Regions from separate parts of the Homo sapiens genome. Here all the other regions are linked to region 7. The links are contacts of gene promoters, found by promoter capture Hi-C in blood cells and fetal thymus (Javierre and others, 2016). All regions are on one chromosome and are shown on one strand. Each heading gives the region's core, a stretch centred on a gene start or on the middle of the fragment in contact. The rest is flanking DNA. Distances are from core to core; before and after follow the strand shown. Region 1 overlaps SREK1 (splicing regulatory glutamic acid and lysine rich protein 1). Region 2 overlaps CWC27 (CWC27 spliceosome associated cyclophilin). Region 3 overlaps CWC27 (CWC27 spliceosome associated cyclophilin). Region 4 overlaps CWC27 (CWC27 spliceosome associated cyclophilin). Region 5 overlaps CWC27 (CWC27 spliceosome associated cyclophilin). Region 6 overlaps CWC27 (CWC27 spliceosome associated cyclophilin). Region 7 holds the start of ADAMTS6 (ADAM metallopeptidase with thrombospondin type 1 motif 6).

What was found. The method cuts DNA at HindIII sites, captures the fragments that hold promoters and counts their contacts. A CHiCAGO score of 5 or more calls a contact.
Region 1: a fragment that was not itself captured here is called in contact with the fragment with the promoter of ADAMTS6 in region 7 in 1 of 17 cell types (fetal thymus); the score reaches 5.4 in fetal thymus.
Region 2: a fragment that was not itself captured here is called in contact with the fragment with the promoter of ADAMTS6 in region 7 in 16 of 17 cell types (M0 macrophages, M1 macrophages, M2 macrophages and 13 more); the score reaches 40.4 in M0 macrophages.
Region 3: a fragment that was not itself captured here is called in contact with the fragment with the promoter of ADAMTS6 in region 7 in 16 of 17 cell types (M0 macrophages, M2 macrophages, megakaryocytes and 13 more); the score reaches 23.3 in M0 macrophages.
Region 4: a contact is called between a fragment that was not itself captured here and the fragment with the promoter of ADAMTS6 in region 7, in 3 of 17 cell types (M0 macrophages, activated CD4 T cells and naive CD8 T cells). The highest score is 8.7, in M0 macrophages.
Region 5: a contact is called between a fragment that was not itself captured here and the fragment with the promoter of ADAMTS6 in region 7, in 13 of 17 cell types (erythroblasts, total CD8 T cells, naive CD8 T cells and 10 more). The highest score is 10.9, in erythroblasts.
Region 6: a contact is called between a fragment that was not itself captured here and the fragment with the promoter of ADAMTS6 in region 7, in 16 of 17 cell types (M0 macrophages, megakaryocytes, non-activated CD4 T cells and 13 more). The highest score is 22.0, in M0 macrophages.

The regions. Positions count from the first base shown.
Region 1 is chr5:66,147,577-66,150,276 of GRCh38, forward strand. All of the region lies in intron 1 of SREK1 (splicing regulatory glutamic acid and lysine rich protein 1), which reads left to right. Among named protein-coding and RNA genes, the nearest start is that of SREK1, 4.6 kb to the left of the region's middle. The HindIII fragment of the contact is 2,439 bases long and covers 177-2,615 here.
Region 2 is chr5:64,806,357-64,809,056 of GRCh38, forward strand. All of the region lies in intron 10 of CWC27 (CWC27 spliceosome associated cyclophilin), which reads left to right. Among named protein-coding and RNA genes, the nearest start is that of CWC27, 39 kb to the left of the region's middle. The HindIII fragment of the contact is 3,254 bases long and covers 1-2,700 here.
Region 3 is chr5:64,789,146-64,791,845 of GRCh38, forward strand. All of the region lies in intron 7 of CWC27 (CWC27 spliceosome associated cyclophilin), which reads left to right. Among named protein-coding and RNA genes, the nearest start is that of CWC27, 22 kb to the left of the region's middle. The HindIII fragment of the contact is 3,301 bases long and covers 1-2,700 here.
Region 4 is chr5:64,860,180-64,863,100 of GRCh38, forward strand. All of the region lies in intron 10 of CWC27 (CWC27 spliceosome associated cyclophilin), which reads left to right. Among named protein-coding and RNA genes, the nearest start is that of CWC27, 93 kb to the left of the region's middle. The HindIII fragment of the contact is 2,872 bases long and covers 196-2,921 here.
Region 5 is chr5:64,844,141-64,846,985 of GRCh38, forward strand. The region is part of intron 10 of CWC27 (CWC27 spliceosome associated cyclophilin); the gene reads left to right. Among named protein-coding and RNA genes, the nearest start is that of CWC27, 77 kb to the left of the region's middle. The HindIII fragment of the contact is 357 bases long and covers 1,224-1,580 here.
Region 6 is chr5:64,826,670-64,829,369 of GRCh38, forward strand. All of the region lies in intron 10 of CWC27 (CWC27 spliceosome associated cyclophilin), which reads left to right. Among named protein-coding and RNA genes, the nearest start is that of CWC27, 59 kb to the left of the region's middle. The HindIII fragment of the contact is 1,329 bases long and covers 682-2,010 here.
Region 7 is chr5:65,480,540-65,483,299 of GRCh38, forward strand. ADAMTS6 (ADAM metallopeptidase with thrombospondin type 1 motif 6) reads right to left here and starts at 1,381. Exons shown (of 25, transcript NM_197941.4): 1 at 804-1,381. RefSeq lists enhancers at 1,134-1,493, 1,261-1,760, 1,534-1,583. The HindIII fragment of the contact is 619 bases long and covers 1,190-1,808 here.

The DNA of each region.
Region 1 (2,700 bases), core at 146-2,645, 670 kb after region 7:
GATTTTTTTTGCTTGTTGATTTCCGTCACTTCTCTGGTCTTCTAAAGTTCTAAGAAAGAATGGAAAAATCTGTCAACTACTTAAGTTTATTTAGTTAAAAAAAATGTAACCACTAAAGCCACTTTATAGAAAATAGAGAAAAGGAAACAGCACTTGTGATCCCACCACTCTATCAAAGCTTCTCTCCATTTCCCTGTAGTCCTTTTCACATGCGTTAATAAATATTGGACATATTACCTCATTGGTTTTAAAAATAATTGTATAGTGCTATCATTATGTAATATATGTAATATAGCGTAATCAAAGGAATCACACTGTTATTTTACTTTTTTCACTTTGTCATAAGCATTTTCCATATTGCTGTCTTATTTATAGTAATATTTAGAGATTAGTAATTTCTGAGTGTATTGTGTGTTTTTGAAATTCTATTGTTGGATATTTTGATTGCTTTTTTTGGTATTACAAATTAGTGGATTTTAGCTAGAAATTGGGAGGTGTGTCTTTTTGATTGTCAACAATGATTAGAGGGCCTGTTGGCATTTAGTGGGTAAATGTTAGCAACTTATAAGTAGTCTTAAACAGGATGAATTGTGCTAATCCATAGGGCCACTGAAGCCCAGTGAAGAAACCCTGTTATAAATAATGCACCAACTAATATTTTTGTACATGATACTGTATGCTTCGCTCATGTTTTGGCATATCTTTTTTGGTAGGTCCTCTGTCCTCTAAAGGATGTGTATTAATGTACTGATAAAATACTGGACATATTATTACCTCATTGGTTTTAAAAATATTGTATAGTGCTATCATTATGTTTAATAAAAGACAAAATAACCAGTTAGGGCCAAGAAATTTAATTGATGCCCAAAAAGTTGGTTCTTTGGTTTCTGCGTGTACTACCCACTGAAAAGTTTTAATTTTTTTTGAAAAATTGATAAGATTTTGTATTTTAAAAAACCAAAACTTTAAGTCAACGAATGAGGTCAAACTAAAATCTGCTAAATTTGGGTACTGCTATTTTCTTCTTAAAATTTATTTCTAAAATTTTATTTATTTATTTAGTTAAGTAGAGACAGGATTTCACCATGTTGCGCAGGCTGGACTCAAACTCCTGGGCTTAAGCAGTCCGCCTGCTTTGGCATCCTAAAGTGCTGGGGTGACAGATGTGAGCCACTGTGCCTGGCCTGCTAGTTTCTATAGATGCATACATTTAGACCAAATGGAATATGTCATCCCTTTTTATGTGTTTTTTTTTCCCCCAAGGTCTTCTTCTGTTGCCCAGGCTGGTCTTGAACTCTTGGGCACAAGCAAGTACACATTTGTTTGATGAGCTATCTGTTTGTTGGCTTGCTACTCTAATAATTTTAGTTTATAATGGTCAAAATAAAATAGTGTTACCTTGCCTGAAATTTTCAAATATTTGCATTTTTATAAAGTAAATGTAAGTTGGTCTTTATTTTAAGGAAGGTAATTGGAAATGAAGATTAAGAAAATTGGCCGGGTGCAGTGGCCCACGCCTGTAATCCCAGCGCTTTGGGAAGCCGAGGCAGGCGGATCACGAGGTCAGGAGTTCGAGACCTGTCTGGCCAACATAGTGAAATCTTGTTTCTACTAAAAATACAAAAAATTAGCTGGGTGTGGTGGTGTGCACCTGTTATCCCAGCTACTTGGGAGGCGGCAGGAGAATCGCATGAACCCGGGAGGCGGAGGTTGCAGTGAGCCGGGATCCCGCCATTGCACTCCAGCTCGGGTGACAGTGTGAAACTCTGTCTCAAAAAAAAAAGGAAAAGAAAAGAAAAGAAAATTGCTTAAATCAGTGGAGTAGCCGTACCTAATATCCATACTTCCATGATGATGCTGTTCAGAACAGACCAACATTTTTTTAACCAGTTCCCAGGCTTCTGAAATGTTGGTGGCATGTCTTCAGATGTAGTTGCATTACAAACCAGACTCAGAATTCCTATTCCTGTGGATGTTTTAAGTTTGAAATGAAGTAGATTTCAACTAGGGGTATTTGGAAATGTGGTTTTAGTTTTCAGTAGTGCTTACTTAACATTTACATTCCTTCACAAAAGGATCCGTCAGTTTAGGAAATGTTGCTTCAGAGATGACTGTCAGGCTCTTGAAGATTTCAGAGGCAAAAGAGTTATTCCTGTTGGAATTGCTAGGGCTTTAGTAGGTTATTATAATCACAGATTGTTTTTGGTTAAAAAGGACAGAAACAGTGTTACCCAAGGTACATCGAGAAGAGACATTATTATTAAAAAGAAAGATTTCACTGCGTTGAAAAATAAAGATTGTAGTACAGCCAGGCCTCATGGGAACTAGTACTGGGAACCAGAAGGGTATCAGCAATCAAGATGACTATCTGCTTCTTTCTCTGCAGTGGTTATTATCAGTTCAGTTTGTTTCTATCTACTCCATTTCTTTGCATACCTATTATGTACTCATCATCTGGCTTACAGCTTGCTGTAAGTCACCTTCCAGCCCAATAGAGAGAACCTGATTGATTGATCTAGCTCATTTGGTCGAGCCTGACTTCCAAAATTAGAGGTTGCTGGTCAGCCAGGGAAATGGGCCCTTGAGACTGGTGACTAATCATTTATGGCTAGAGAAGCTTATAGGATCTTTTGAGGGTTTCACATGAGGAAACCGTGCTAAGGCCTGTGCCAAAGCAATATAGAATGTCTTGGTAGCACA
Region 2 (2,700 bases), core at 129-2,628, 670 kb before region 7:
GGCTTGAATATTTTAGGTAAACATGAGTATTGTGGACATTGTTGGATTCTTTTAGGTAAAATAATTGGCAAAGTGTGCCTTTGTAAATGGTGCAGACAGCACACATTTATTTATAACTGTTCTGTTCCCCCACATTTTCATTATTCACATTCTCTACTCTCCCTCCTTCATCCTATCTGTCCTACCTACAAAGAGAAACAAAAGAAAAATAAGGTCAGGATAGAGGAGAAAGTACAGAATTTCAAAAGGAAGAAACAGTTTTTTCCTCTAGTGTAGAAATTTCCATGATTGTCTCATGACCACGTATTTTTTTCAGTTCATAAAGTTGCCAAAATCAGACCCTGGCATGGTGGCTCATGCCTGTAATCCCAGCTGCTCAGCAGGCTGAGGTGGGAGGATTGCTTGAGCCTAGGAGCTCTAGGCTGCAGTGAGCTATGATCCTGTATGGGCAACAGAGCAAGACCCTGTCTCTAAAAAAATAAAAATAAATTTTAATAAATTTCCAAATCATTAGTACTTTTGGTTATTTATACCAGCGAGTCTCTGAAGTTAACTTTATGGTTAAAAAATAAAACAACACAGGAAAGCTCCAAATGTACTGAAAAACTACAACGTGGTAAAAGGGATAATTATATTTAAAGGAAAGTCACTGCTCAGTTTGAGTTATAATGGGTATAGCTGCCAGCCAGATAGGATGTCAGTGTGATATCATTATCTATTCAAAAATGTGTACTCTTGATACATGAGTTTTCATCAGGGTGTGCTTGAAGTACTCTATTATCCTTTGGTCATTCTTCCATTTAAGCAGTAGGATCAGAAACTAGACTAGCCCACCAGCCCTTTAAGCAATGAGCCGTTCAAAGTATAATTTTACTGAAAACGTGTGGTATTGCTTCTATTGGTAAGGAAACATCTGGAATCTGTTAAAGCTGGTTATCACTTTTGGATGTTAAACCTACACATGTATTTATTGAGTGCTTAATATTTAAACTGGGGAATGATATTTAACAGAATAATTTTCAACAAGTTTACATATAGTAGGATCTTCTCCTAGTAATGTGTTCTCAACAATGTCTCTAGTTGTTCATTTGAAAAAAGAGCTCAGGGGAAATACAAATCCAAAACGCTTCCTAGTTTCTCTCCTTAGAGAATCGGCACCCTTATATCTATTCTGACTTCCTAGGATTTCTAATCCCTTGTCTCTTCCCTTTTTAAAATGTACCAATCCCACTTTCTTTCCAGCCCACCTTCTCTATGCCTGTATCTTGACTACTGGATACAGCTCAGCAGAATCACACAGGCATATACAAGCTGGTATTATTATGGATTTCTAGATTCCAGCCTCAGCTGTGTCTCCAGTGCTTCCTTATTACTCACTCGCCACAATGTTTACTTCACACTTCAAACTCACTCAACGGATCACCTGGCTGCTTGTTTTTTTATGAAATGAGAGTAAATTTCTTCAACCCGTATTTCTTTCTCTTCCCCGCTTCGAGAGTAAAAACTAACAAAACCATTCCATTTTATTTCCTGTCCCTACCTCCTTCCTATTTATTTCTAAATACATATCATCTAGCTTCTCACCTACCACTCCACTGAAACTACTTCCACTAAGGCCATCTAGTTGATAATCGACTGGCTACTTTCCATTTTTTTTTCTTGGTCTTCCTGCTCTGGAGATTTTTGTCTCTTTTCTCTTGAGACTAATCTCTCTCAAGAACCTTACTATTTAAAGTGTGATCTGTGAAGCAGTAGCATTAGTATCACTTGGGAACTTGTTAGAAATACCGAGTCTCAGGCCCTGTCCTACACATTTTTAATTAGAATCTGCATTCTAACAAGATCCCCAGGTGATTTTTGTGTGCATTAGTTTGAGAAGCAGTCCTGTAGAATATTAATTTTTATCCCTACTGCTCCTGGATGAGTTCAAGTTTGTATCATGTTAGTTCCAAGGTCAGCAAGTTGTCAGCAAGTTGGTACTATATTCCCTGACTCCTTAGTGCAAACCTATGTGCACCCTTTTCACACTCCTGTAATATTAGGTTACATATACATTTTTTCTTCTTTGTGTATCCTTATACTGTAACTTTCTTGAAGGTAGTGATCATATCCATTTACATTTGTATCTCCATGTTCAAACAGCGTAGGTACCCAAATATTTTTGTAAATACATGAACAAAAAATGAATAAATTCTTCTTTGGCAAATCACTTTCTCCTCTGGATCTTGTAAGTAGCTTGCTTGTATTTTCAATAGGGATTTATTGATTCGCCTCTCCTCTGCCTAAACTAAGCTCTTTAGAGACTATGTCTTATTTATCTTTATATCCTCAGAGGCGGCTAATATCTTAAGCATATAGTAACTGGTCATTAAACTTTGTGGAATGAGTGGATAAATAAAATATTTAATTAATTATGTTCCATTATAGGAGTGGTTTTCACTCCTAACCGCACATTAGGCTCACGGAGGAGGCTTTGAAAAATACTAATTCGTAGGCCCCTCACCCACAGATTCAGAATTGTCTGGTCTGAGGTAAAGTCTGGGAAGATCCTTCTTTAACTTTTAAACTTTTAATTTAAGTATAATATACAAACAATGTGTCTATTAACTATATTTCATAGTGCACATAAGTATACAGCTAGCTGAATTTTTACAAACTAAATATATCCATATACCCATCACCCAGATCAAGAAACAAAAA
Region 3 (2,700 bases), core at 13-2,512, 690 kb before region 7:
CATTGAATTTGTAAATTGATTTGTGGTCAGTAATATTTGCAACTTTTGAGATTATCCTATTTATTTTTAATGTTGGCATTTTAAAAAAATCAGTTTGAACTAGACTTGCAGTTTTTTGAATGGTTGGACTTTATGATTCAGATCCTAACTGCTATTTTTTCAGGTAGTATGTTAGATGATAATGATTATTATCATTACTGATATAAACAGTCACAGACCAAAACTCTTATATTCATTTTAATGTTATTTATATATATTTTGTTTATTTCATTAATTCTCATTACAGCCCTTTGAGATGGGTGATATTATTATCATCCTCATTTTACTCATGAATACATTCAGCTATAGTTTATAATTTGCTCAAAGTAACATAACCAATAAGTAGCTACAGATGGGAACTGAACGCAGGTCTTTGTAACTATTAAATCCATGTCCTTGAATTATGCAGTGCCTCCTGGCCTTTTTATTCTGCTAGTCCTTCCTGTAGGCCTTTACATGTGGTTTTCTTCAATATTGCTTGCATCATAATACGCATTACTGAAACACGGTGTCATGCCATTGTTTAGAGCAGTAATTCTGGTGTGTATACTACAAGAAAACTGTCTTCAAGGGTTTCTACTCCTAAAGGTTCTGATATGCCTTTCTTTTTTGAAAATTAGTGAATACTGAGAACTAAAGGATTAGGTTTATAGTCTTTATTGTTGTAATTAAAACTTTATAACCTATAAGCCTTACTTGCTTAACATAATTATCTATTTCTTACCAACTCTAACAATAACATTGAATTAAAAGCATATTATTATTATTCTTGTTTTTACTTCTTTAGCCATATGTTCCCTTATTAGTGAGCACGGTTTTGCAGGCTAATGTTGGACGCCTAGTAAGCACTCTACTTAATACCCCTTGCATTAAAATGTAATTAAAATGGTGTGTATATGAAATATTTTGGTCATAACTTTTTGTTGCTTTTTATTGTATCCTTGAGTGATGTATTTGATGCCATGGATTCAATTTCCATTTACCTGTACACCAACATTCTAAACTCTAGGAGATAAGGCCAAATATTTCTCCTGGGCTCTTATCCCTTGTTCAGAGTTGCTTTAGGAAAGGTCTCTAGATGTCAAAACTAAATTCATTTTTTTACAAAAACTTCATTTCCCAATTCCTTAACGTCACCAATCACTCTGTCACCTCAATATCTGAAGAGTCATCTTCTTTAGATGTCAGTGCACTAGTCTTGCATTGTTTATGATTCAAATTTATGCCTCATCAAAATGATTTACTATGTGTCATGATTCTGTGGTTATGTTTGTGAATGGACAAAACCATGAATGTTAGATCTAGAAATTGCCAGGGTTCCTTTTCATTGATGTTTTCTAAAGATGTCAAGTTTCCTTGCATACCCATACTTTCCTCACAGTTCCCCCACCCCTGTTTTTCCTTTTGCCAGGAGTATGCTCTCTCCTTAAAGTGTTTTTCCTTTAAGATTTAGGTCTACTATCACCTTCTACTACTTCTACCTCCCCCTGCCACTGAACTCCCATCCAGGCTAAGCTAGGTACTTCTTTCCATGATAATCTGTCTATGCCCATCAAAACATTTATCCTACTGCATTACAATAATTTATCTTCTTATCTGCTAACTATACTATTTATTTTATGTAATCCCTATAACAACCATGCAATATAGATATTATTTTTCTTATTTTGTAGAATAAAGAAAGTGAAACTCAGAGAGGGTTAAATAACTCATCCATGATCATGCAATTAAGAGGTGGTAGAATCAGAATTTTGAACTGAGGGTTTTTTTAGCTAGTTAAGTCTCTCATATGATTATGAATGCTGTAGAAGCTGTCTCCTTCAAGCCCAAGACGTCTCAAAGGTTGGTGAGAAATTTCACTGGTAGCGTAGCATTCTGGGGTAGAAGGCAGCTGGGGAAGGCAGTTGGCCCGTTGTCCTTCCCTAAATCCCACAGGGTCCTGGATAGTTAGGTTGAGCAGCCTTGGAGAGCAAGGGCAGGAGAAAGTTTTTCTGTCAGTTTTTTGTTGAAGTTAAATTTCTAGTCTAAAGTAAGTTTTGTTCACAATTGCTTTGAGATAGACTTGACTAGGAAATTAGTTTGAATTTTTTCTATTTGTAACAGCAGCATGTGTTAAATGTTCAAAGATTATCTTCCTTCTGCTGCTTTCTACTGTACAAAATAGAAAAATGGTATGTTTACATTATACTGAATATTGTGAACTTATACTCCAAAAGCAATTTGCGTTTCAGATTGAAATGTACAAGGATAGCAGCACAGATAGTGCTGTCTTTTTTTTTTTCTTTCTTAAACCTGAAAAACACTTTAAATACTTTTAGAAGGACTGAGTAAAATCTTTTCTCTCTGCCAAGAAAATTACAACCCAAATACCGTTCATTATCAAATGAATATTATTATCCTAGTATTGTGTCATCATAGTTTTCTCATCTGGCTCTTTCGTAGGGGGTGCTTTGTAATTAAGTTATCATCAAATGCTTGTATCTGACTCTCACGTCTATATCTCTAGGCTGGTTTACTCTTCTTTTCTCCAGCTGCTTATTGGACATTAGTTTATCAAGCCCTGGGGAAGTCTTAACTCACTATCTTTTTCTTCTCAAACTTCTTATTTTGTGACTTTGTATTCCCTAGTGTCAATATCTTCCAAAGAAGGTCTTTAGATTC
Region 4 (2,921 bases), core at 382-2,881, 620 kb before region 7:
CTTAACAAGTCCTTACAATTTAATAATGTTATTTATTTGCTGATATTTAAATGAATTAAAATTAATGGAAGAATTACAATATTTAATATGATACTAGATTTTTAAATATATTGAAAACCTCAATATGAATAAAATGCAAAAATTATTAGCATTTATAGTAAACAAAACACAAAACATCTCTATCTGTCTAAACAAAGCTTTTGTCTACCCCGACTGTTGGGGCTAAGTGCCTGTGTTACCCTATGAACTGCCCTTGGTTTGATTTCTAATCATACCACCATTGTGTGATAGATATCAGGATAAAGCTGAAATGCCAGGTCAGACTCCAGATTTTCTGGTTAGATTTTCAGTTTTACTTTTGGCTGTTTTGACCATGTTTTATGATGGGTACCTAGTCAACATAAGTAACTCATTAGGATCAGCTCTACTTTTTAATGCTGTTGATATAACATCAGTCTTTCTGGCTTAAAATTTCTTATAAAATTTTTGAATGAGTATTTTGCATATATAACTGTGTTTTAAAGTTATACTGTAAACACTTGTATTTCTTCATAACTTTAAGTACTTTGGTCCAACTCTTTATCTGCAGAGTTTGAAATATTAATGAATTTCATCAAAATATATAATTAGTTGATAAACTGTGAGTGCTCTTGGTATGTTATCATCATACAAATAACTATACATTATAGTATAATCCCGTTTCAGTTATCTATTGCTGTGTAAAAATGACCTCAAACTCAGTAACTAAAACAAGCAGCTCATAATTTTTTTAGGTCAGAGATTTGGATAAGGTACAAATTGGATGGTTCATAATGTTCTGCAATATCTGGGACCTTAGTTGGGGCTCCTCAAATGGTTAGGAGCTGCCTAGAATACTCCGTGGATGTTTCAACCCGTAGGGTCATATGTCTCAAGCCTTGACTCTGCCTGTTGGACCAAATGCTTAGTTCTCCATGTGTGGCTTTTCCATGTGCTACCTTTGGTTTTTTCACAACATGGTGGTCTCGGTTTCTAAGAAGACATATTCCTAAAGTATCAACTCTAATGTCCTAGCAGTTATCAAGCCTCTTCTTATTTTTTTTTTTCACTCACCACCATACTAATAAGGATCAAGCCTCTTCTTGCATCAGAATTTTTTTGTGTGGCCAAATCAGATATATATATATATAAAACCAATCTTCTCTATTATAGAGTTATGTTTTTTCTTAGCAGGTATCTCATGGTCAGGCCTAGAGTCAATGTGGGAAGAGACTATACAAGGGTATGAATCACTTGTACACTTATACTTATGTGTAAGTGATGGTTCACTGGAAACCACCAATGTACCAAAACAGTTGACTAAACATGCTTAGCACACTTCTGTGTTCATATCAGGTACTCTGTACTTAGTGATTGATTTAAAAATCAAGGACATTTTTATATATGCTTTTTCTATTTATGTGAATTGTTACATTTTGCCACATTAACCTTTAATATATGAATAAAGTTAAAACAATGAAGAGACTTGAGTAAGTACTGTTTCTAATGGATATCCTAGAACTGAGGTCCTTCTATGTGCTTCCATTAACAGCAACATAATACCAGGTCTCAACTGCCATTGTGCTGCCTTACATTATACTTCCATGTAATAGTTGCATTGCTATAGGAATATAGGTTACTAAACTATCATTCTCATTACTTTCCAAAGAAATGTTCAATATCATGCTATTTAAAGACTAAATATGATAACGATTTTAATACAATGTCATTCTTCTAATGTTACATAGATACATGTATTTATCCTGTGCATCTTGGTATGAGGATTTAAAAATCCATTTTAGGGGAAAGTTTTGTGTGCAGAGCACAGAGCGCTAGATATCAAGTAGGTTTATGTAAATAGTATATTGCTTCATGTTGTTGGTGCCATATAACAGAATCCTTTCTGCTAATTTAAGTCACAAATGAATATATCAAAATGATATCAGCAAACCCACGGAATGTACGGGAAGGCCAAAGAGCCAGGCTGAGTCAGGATGCAAGGCACTGCCTACCTGACAATGTAACTACTAGGAATCTGCCTCTGCAGTTGCTGACACAGCCACACTGCATATTTATGGACTCCATGCTACTATGGCCAGCGCAAATAATCTTTTATCTTATTAAAAATAATTTAGGCATATCAGGAAGTAAATATAATATACCCTTCCTCAAAAACAAACAAAACCCTAGAAGAAAACACTCATATACTTATCACTTGGATTAAACAATGATTGATAGTTTGCTGTATTTGCATTAAAATACTTCAACACAGAAATAAATTACAGAAGTCATGTTTTACCACTAAAAATATGAATATGAATACCTTAAAATGGAAAAACTTATATAACCATACTAAAATTCATATATGTAATGAATTAATAATTCCCTAATAATCATCTAATACCCAGCCCATATTCAAATTTTCCCAGGTGTTTGCAAAATGTTTTTTATAGCTTGTCTGTATATGTCCAGATCCAGTCAAGGTTTACATGTTGAATTTTTTTTAGTCTCTTGAGTTTTGCTTTAGACCATTCAAGCTACTTTAACAAAATACCATCAACTGGGTGGCTTATAAACAAGAAAAGAGAAATTTCTTTCTCTCAGTTCTTGAGGCTGAGAAGTCCAAGATCAAGGCATTAGCAGATTTGGTGTCTCGTGAGGGCCTATTTCCTGGTTCATAGATGGCCATCTTCTCATTGTGTCCTCATGTGGTGGACAGGATAAGAAACCTTTCTGGGATTTTTTATAAGAGCATTAAACCCATTTGTGAGGGCTTCACCCTCAGGACCTACTCACCTTCCAAAGTCCCCACCTCCAAATACCATCACACTGGGAATTAAGTTTCAACATATGAATATGGGAAGGACAAAAATATTCAGTATCTCCTACCCTTTTAATTTTTC
Region 5 (2,845 bases), core at 152-2,651, 640 kb before region 7:
TGAACCCAGAATTTCAACAGGGGGGAAGGGAATTGGATGCAGTCATCCAGCATACCTAGCATTCTGATATGCTTCTTATGAAACCCACTCCGAAGCAATCAGCATGGCTAGACTGCCTGGAGTCGGGTAGAAATAAAGGAGGCAGAGGTCATATTGACCAGTGCATGGATCTTGACAGTACCTCTGTGTTCCTGACAGCTGTGATGCCTGGTCACAGATACCAGCCAACCTCATAGTTGACCCCCAAAGCTAAGCTAGTTGCCTTGAGAAGGAAGATGGGAAGTTCATCCTAGCTTGAGTCCTTAGGCTGCTAGTTTCCCACCCAGCCTCAGAGCCCACCTCTGTGACCTGCATATGCAGGGGGATGCCCACTTCCTCCCATTTTGGAGAAGTGAAGGGTCTATACCAGTTTGACTTGAGAAGTCAAGCAGCAGCTCCCCTCACCCTCAGCCAAAAAACCTGCTTTACAACCCCACCCAGGCAGAGAGACTCTCCACCTTTATGAATTTCAGAGAATTAAATGGTCTAGACTGACTTGACATGGGTGCTCAAGCAGTGGCTCCATTCAGCCAATAAGCCATTCCAGTGACTTTGCATAGGCAGGGAGATTTCCACTTTCACGCATCTTAGAGAAGCATAGAGCCTAGACCTGTTTGACCCAGGCAGTCAAACAGCCACTCAACTCTGCCACAAAGCAATCCCATGGCTCTACCCTGATAGGGAGGTAATCCTCAATTGTGCATTTCTAAGGGGTACAGCTTCTGGTATTTCTCCTCTCCCAGGAAATTACTCTGCCTAACCTTGGAGCCCAGCCTACAGCCCGGCCCAACTGCAGATCTCAAATAGCAGAATTGCCCATCCAGGGAATACAACTTGCAACTGGCCTGATGAGAAGCCATCACAGTTTCTAGCCATTAACTCTGCCTAATAGCAGAGCCCAGCCACTGATCTCACCAGACAGTGGAGTCTATCCAGCAGCCCCATGTAACATCAGAGGAAAGGCATCTGCCCAGCAAATTAGAGAACTCCCAACAAGCTCTGACTCCCTGGGATCATCACCAGCTGGCCCTTCCCAGGCTAAACTAAATAGTGAACCTCTATCCATGCCAAAGAACACCTATTGTAAAGGCTAGAAGAGGGGGCTTTCTCCTCAAATGCATAGACAATAACACAAGGACACAAGAACTACAAAGAACAAAAGAAATCCCAAAAGAAACTAATAAAGCTTCAGTAATGGACCCCAAAGAAACGGAGATATTTGGAATGACTGAGGAAGAATTTAGAATACTACTCATAAAGATGTTCAGTGATGTACAAGAATATATGGATAGAAAATGTAATAAAATTTGGAAACTGATACCTAACAAAAATAACAAGTTTGACAGAAATAGAAACAATATAAAAGAAACACATATAAATTCTAGAGTTGAGGAATACAATGACTGAACTGAAAAATTCAATAGAAAGCATCATTGGTGGATTTGATAGAGCAGAAGAAAGAATCAATGAGCTGGAAGACAGCATTTGATATTATCCAGTTAGAGGACCAGAAAGACAAAAGAGTGAAAAAGAATGAAGAAAGCTTATGGGACTTATGAGACACCATCAAGAGTTCAAACCTTTGCATACTAGGATTTGCAAAAGAAGAAAGAGAAAAAGGGTCACAAAGCCTATTTAAGGAAAGAATGACTGAAAAATCCCCTAATCTGGGAATAGATGTGAATATCCAGGTACAAGAAGCACAGAAATTTCAATCAAATTCAACACACAGAGGAGTACACCAAGGCATACAATAATCTAGCTGTCAAAAATCAAAGACAAAACATTTTGAGAACAGCAAGAGATAATAAACACATCACATACAAAGGAGACAATATGACTATCAGCAGATTTCCCAGCAGAAACCCAGTAGGCCAGGAGAGAGTGGCATAATATAATTGAAATGCCGGAGGAAAACAAACACAAAAACTACCAATCAAGAATACTTAACCCAGCAAAGCTATCTTTCATAATTGAGAAGGAAATAATACTTTCTCCCTCAGTTTCATGAAACATATGAATTGCAAAACTCAATGGTATATGTAAAATAGTGCCATATTCAGAAAACTGTAGGACTGTAATAATGGTGCATAAGGCAATTTCATCCCTAGTACATGAGTCAAAAAACAAAAATATTAATAGCAGCTATAGCTAAAATAAATTATCAAGGTATACACATTAAAAATGATGTAAATTCTGCCATTAAAAACATAATGTTGAGGGGGTATGAAAAAGTATAGAATTGTTGTATGCAAAGTTAATTGTTGTATGCAAAGTTAAGTTGTTATCAGCTTATACTTGATTGTTTATAAGCTGTTATCAGTTTATACTTGATTGTTTATAAGATGTTCTGTGTAAACCTCATGGTAATCACAAAGCAAAAATCTTTAGTGGAAATATAAAGCAAAAATAGAAAGGATTCAAAGCATACCACTATAGAAAACCATCAAATCACAAAGGAAGACAGCAAGGGAGGAAGACAAAAAAAATTATTTACCAAACATCCAGAAAAAAACTAAGAAAATGGCAATAGGCCGGGCACAGTGGCTCATGCTTGTAATCCCAGCACTTTGGGAGGCCGAGGCAGGCGGATCACTTGAGGTCAGGAGTTTGAGACCAGCCTGGCCAATATGGTGAGACCCTATCTCTACTAAAAATACAAAAATTAGCTGAGCGTGGTGGCATGCACCTGTAATCCCAGCTACTCGGTAGGCTGAGACAGGAGAATCGCTTGAATCCAGGAGGTGGAGGTTGCAGTGAGCCAGGATCACACCACTGCACTCCAGTCTGGGTGACAGAATAAGAC
Region 6 (2,700 bases), core at 96-2,595, 650 kb before region 7:
GTTAGTAGTAATTTTTAACTTTGGTGTTTTTTTGTTTTTTTTTTTTGCTAATATCACAATGTAATACAACTGTTAGTTTCATGTCTTCTGCTTTCAGTTTTATCCTGTATAATACTTAGAAATCTTAGTTTCCTTTTCATTATCCAAGATAAATTTTTAGTTGGTAAATTTTCTTGGACGTGTCCTCCTTAATTTTCTTCAGAGCATTGTGTGTATATGTGTGTGGCAATTTTGTTGTCTCACCCTAAGAAAAGAAAAAGTAAATGGAAATGAAAAAGCAAATCAGCATATTCTTCTCTGGAACAATTTTTTCCCACTTTTAAGCAAATTGTAGTAACCTAGGTTAAAATTGCCTTTTGAATTTTCAATGTGTTTTTCTTTTAAACAAGCGCATTGAAAGAAAATAGAAAGTTAACATAGCAGGTCTTCGCATCCTTTCCTTAGAAGATTCCCCCAATCCTCTAAATAACATACTTGATATTTGTATTTAATTTACAATTCATTTAACACAAAATTGTAAACTTCTCTAATGAGTAGGAAAATGGAGTAGATAATCTGTTTAAGTTTCAATGAATTGAGAATATTATTCACATTTGAGATTTGGAAGGTACCTAGAACCATCTGACCCAGTATCTTACCTAGCCTCAGAACTCATCGTACTGGAATTTATCCCATGTCATAAGCTTTTATACCACGTTTGCATGAGTTTTATTTTTCCATGTTGTTTCTTTTCCCATTACCATTAGCAATTGAAACTTGACTATAAAAAAAGGACTTGTTTGTAGGAATCAGGAATACTACATTTTTATAGAGGAAGGAGTATTGCTTTGGAGTTAAACACATCCAGGTTGGAATACCAGCTGTACCACTTTTTAACTTAGTATCTTTGCCTGACTTATTTAATCTCTGATCCTCAGTTTCCTTATTTTAAAACAGAAATAAAAACAGCTATTTTACCAGATTGTTGTAATGCTAATATGAATTAGTAGGCATTTAATAAATTGTAGCTATTTAAATTATATTATATCATATTCTCTTTTTCTGTTTTCAAGATACTACATACTTATTGAGGACACAGTAGTCGACCTATATCCATGGTTTTGCTTTCCATAGTTTTGATTGCCCACAGTCCAGAAATATTAAATGGAAAATTCCAGAAATATATAATTCATAAGTTTTAAATTGCATGCTGTTCTGAGTAGTGTGATGAAATCTTACACCATCCTGCTTTGTGCTGCCCAAGATAAGAATCGTTCCTTTGTGCAATGTATCCATGCTTTATATGCTAGCTGCCTGGTAGTCACTTAGTAGTAGCCATCTTGGTATCAAATTGAGAAACATAGTATATATGGGGTTTTATACTATGCGTGCTTTCCGCAGTTTTATCCACTGGGAGTCTTGGAATGTATCCCTCTTGGATAAGGCAGGGGGACTATGTATTCTCTAATAATTTTCAGAATTTTTCAGGTGATTCTTTCTGAATGCGTTCATTTTACTATGTGACATTTTTAATTTAAGAAAAATGTATTAGGCATTTTTAAAGTAGCTAGGATGAGTCATTTATACTACCATTGTTTTCCTATTAAGTAGTACTTAATCCTCTGTCCCACTTAATCTTCCTATGCCAAATGTTTACAGCACCTAAATAGAATTATGGAAGTTTAAAGTTGAAAGAACCATATTAACTGTCTCCCAGTGTCTTAGTCCGTTTGGACTCCTATAACAAAATACCATAGTCCGGCTGGCTTATAAATAACTGAATTTTTTTTTTCTCACAGTTCTGGAGGCTGGGAAGTCCAAGATTCAGGCACTGGCAGATTTAATGTCTAGTGAGTGCTCACTTCCTTGTTCATAGGCAGCTGTCTTTTGCTGCATCCTCAAATGGCAGAGGGGGCTTGAGACCTCTCTTGGGCCTCTTTTATAAGTAGGATTAATGCCCTTATAAAAGAGGCCCAAGACAGATTGTAAACATTCAGAGAATAGTACCCAGTTTCCTTATTTTACAGATAAAGCTTTTATGAATAGAAGATAAGTGACTTGTTCAAGATTATTTTGTTATTGACAACCTAGGTCATCTGAGTCTGAATGTAAATCTGGCTTAGTTTTACCTGTACTATCCTCTGAAAGTTCCCAGGCCACTCACCAGTTTACAACAACACATCAAATTCAGAAACAGTTACTATATTCACATTATTTCCCTCTACCCATAAAATAGTTAATCAAAAGAGTACATGCAAGCAAAAGGGCAGGAAGCCACCTAGAGAAGCTGATCACAGCCATCTGTGGTATGAGGTATATGGTAAATATTCAACCATTTATTTAATGGAATGAGTGAATGTTGAATCTGTGATCATGCAAATGATAATATCAATGTACAAAATGAAAATGTGATTTTTAAAATTTCTGTATTTATTTGAACCAGATTGTATTATAACAGGATAGTTAGATTGCTAATGTCATTTCTTATAAAATGATTTTTCATGATTTGAATTTTCTAAAAACAAGCCTAACTTCTACCTTTTATGACTCATGTGTTTTATTCTTTTTCTTGTGAGATTATTTGTTAGGTCCAGGAAATTCAGTCAATTTCCAATTTTAGAATTAATGGCTTAATGTCAGTACTGACTCAACTTATGAATGGATCATGTTTGTAATTTTATTTGTATGTTATTTAGAATAGGTAAAATTTCCCTCCAGAAA
Region 7 (2,760 bases), core at 131-2,630:
TCAGTGCGCTTTCTCAATCTCTCGCTCACTTTTCCTCTAGTACAGGGAAAGAAAGCATCAAAGACAGGAATTGTAGCACATATTATCAGAAAGAGGCTTCCCAATACCCCATTCCTGCACTCTCACTCTCCCTCCTCAATCCCTGAACTTTGGTCCCATACACCATATATACAGACCTACCCCGATAAACAAGGCTCCGGAGGGTTATGAGTCTAGCACGTCCCAAGTGGCCAAAAGTAAATCAAAAACACACGTTTCCATCTCTTTGATTAGCCTATTAAGAGCTTAACATGTCCTAGAGCATCGGGGCTACAGCTAGCACATTAATGCTACCCTCTGAGCCCAGGCATAAAATATGCACTTGTCTGAAGACTTAACGACACTGACATGAAACTACAAAATGCATAAGACTTTTCTGTAAGAAAACTGGAAATCAATTTAAAACACACACATCATTATTACCTTCCGGATTACTATTTGGTGATCAGTTAAAAGATTACAATAATCATAATCAAGTCCACTTCACAAAACATGTATTGTATATTCATAAAATAAACGTATTTTTTTTGCATCATAAAATAACTGCAAGTCCCAGAATTCTACAACCCCCGACAAGTCTGGAGTTAAAAAGATATCTATTTGTAAAATGAGTTCAGTCAAGCTCACTCATTGCCATTAAAAAAAAAAAAAAAAACACACACACAGAAAAAAAGTTTTCTAAGCGTTATTCGGAAGACAAGCAAAGCACAAGTTGTTGGTTTAAAAAAAAAAAGCTCCATTGAATATTGTTAAGTCTTCCTTACCGTTTTCATCTTCAAATTCTGATAAAAAGTAAGTTTCAGACAATAGAGATTGCACTGGACGACTCACGTACTCCCTCTCCTCTCTAACTTTTTTTAATTTTTTTTATTTTTTTATTTTTTGCCCCCCTTTGCAAAGCCACACCAGCCAGTTATTCTGCAGCCAGAATAAAACCCTATGGTCTGGCTAACCCGGGCTTTAGAGAACTGACTTTCCGATTTGGCAGAATAAGAGATGCCTTCAATACATCTAGGCTATCACTCTGAGATGCTGCCTTTGCAAACCCCCTTTCTCTCCCTCCCCACCCCCCAAAAAAGGAAAGGAAAAGAAAGAAAAGACGGGAAAAAAGACTTATTGGGGGTGGAAGTGGTGCCCTCTCTTCCTGGAAAGCTTAGTGCCTTTGCTATGCAAATAACATGTGCAGAGCATCAAAAGGTATCAGGAGAAAAGAAGACAAGAGGAGCAGGAAGGGCAGCAAAGTTTTGTTGAAGTAGCCCTAGATCTCACTACCGGCCCCCAGCCAACTTGAATTGCAGCAGGAGAAAATTTTGGCAGCTTTTCCTCGGAGGCAGAGCACACTGACGTCAGTCTGCAGATGTGCCTGGGCTGCGTCGGGTGCGCATGTGTCCTGGGTCGTCACGTGGAGGGGGAGGGGAGGTAGAGGTACAATCGGGGTAACCAACTACCAGCCATTCAGAAGGGCTTAGACAATGTCAACTTTTCCACACTGTGAATGAGAGAAATTCTGGCCTCTCTAACCTCTCTGTCCTATCTCATTCCGCCTCTTTTCCTCCTCCTCCTCTAAACTCTCTTAGAAATTCTAGCCTGGTTTGCTATTAGTTGTTTCTTGGAAAAATGAAGGGGGAGGGAGAAGGATGAATGACTTTAGATGGACTAATGTCACTGTTAAGATCTCTGGTGTCATTCTCCGTGTAATTTTATTTTTAAAATCCACACAATCAAAATGTTAAAACTTGCACGCAAACAGTGCCTCTGAGGAAACTTAAAGCTTAGATTCGTGCAGCAGGCACAAGACTCAGTAGCTACAAGTGTACAAAATGCCTGTGTTTTATACATACTTCAGCAAGTAAGGTTAGCACCAAAAGGGAAAGTAAACTAAAGTAAACTAATACCAGCACATTTTCCATTTGATTATCGACTTCAGGTTATGTGGAGCTTTAAAAGAAGAAGAAGAAGAAAAAAAAAAAGTAGGGGAGGAGGGAGCGGGGGAAGGAAGAGAGAAGCTTGCATTATTTCCAGATGAGGGTGAGACTGGATGGTGTTTTAAAGTGCAACCGGGAAAAGCCACAAGTGGAGTGTATTTTTTTAAGTCAGTCCATTGAATGAAACTTCAATGACTGCCCAAATGAAAATAAATCCGAAGTAGGACCCCACCACCAAAAAAAAAAAGGAAGGGAAAAAAACAGGAACCCTGCTGCGATCTCAAGATAAACAAACAAAACCTCAAAACTGGTTCTTCAACCTTCCCAATCCCACCCTCCCTCCCCCCTACACACAAGCTGCCAGTCCAGACTTTAAGGATAAAATACCGCTACAATGTAGCACTTTCACTTTCATTTGCTGAGAATGAAAGCCGCTGGGGAGAAAATGCCCAGTGTTTTCCATGTCCTAAGCAAGCAAACAAAGTCTGGCACATACATCGGAAACAGGAAAAAATGTGAAAATAGCTCAGGACAAATGTTGCCTTTCAACGGTGTAATCTGCTGCATCATTTATCTGTCTCTACCATTGAGTGTAGAATAGGGAGCTGTTTAAGAGTTTCCGAGGTTGGGGGCAGGGGAAAATTGACGCCTTGAAATTCCAGCCCTTAGTTAATGCCAAGTCAATTTCCGATGGTGAGAACCAGAAAGGAGAACTGGACCGGAGGGAAGGGGGTAGGAAGGATGATCTTTCTGAATACCAGCTCTTAAATATCAAGCTTCTGCTAACATTATTGCC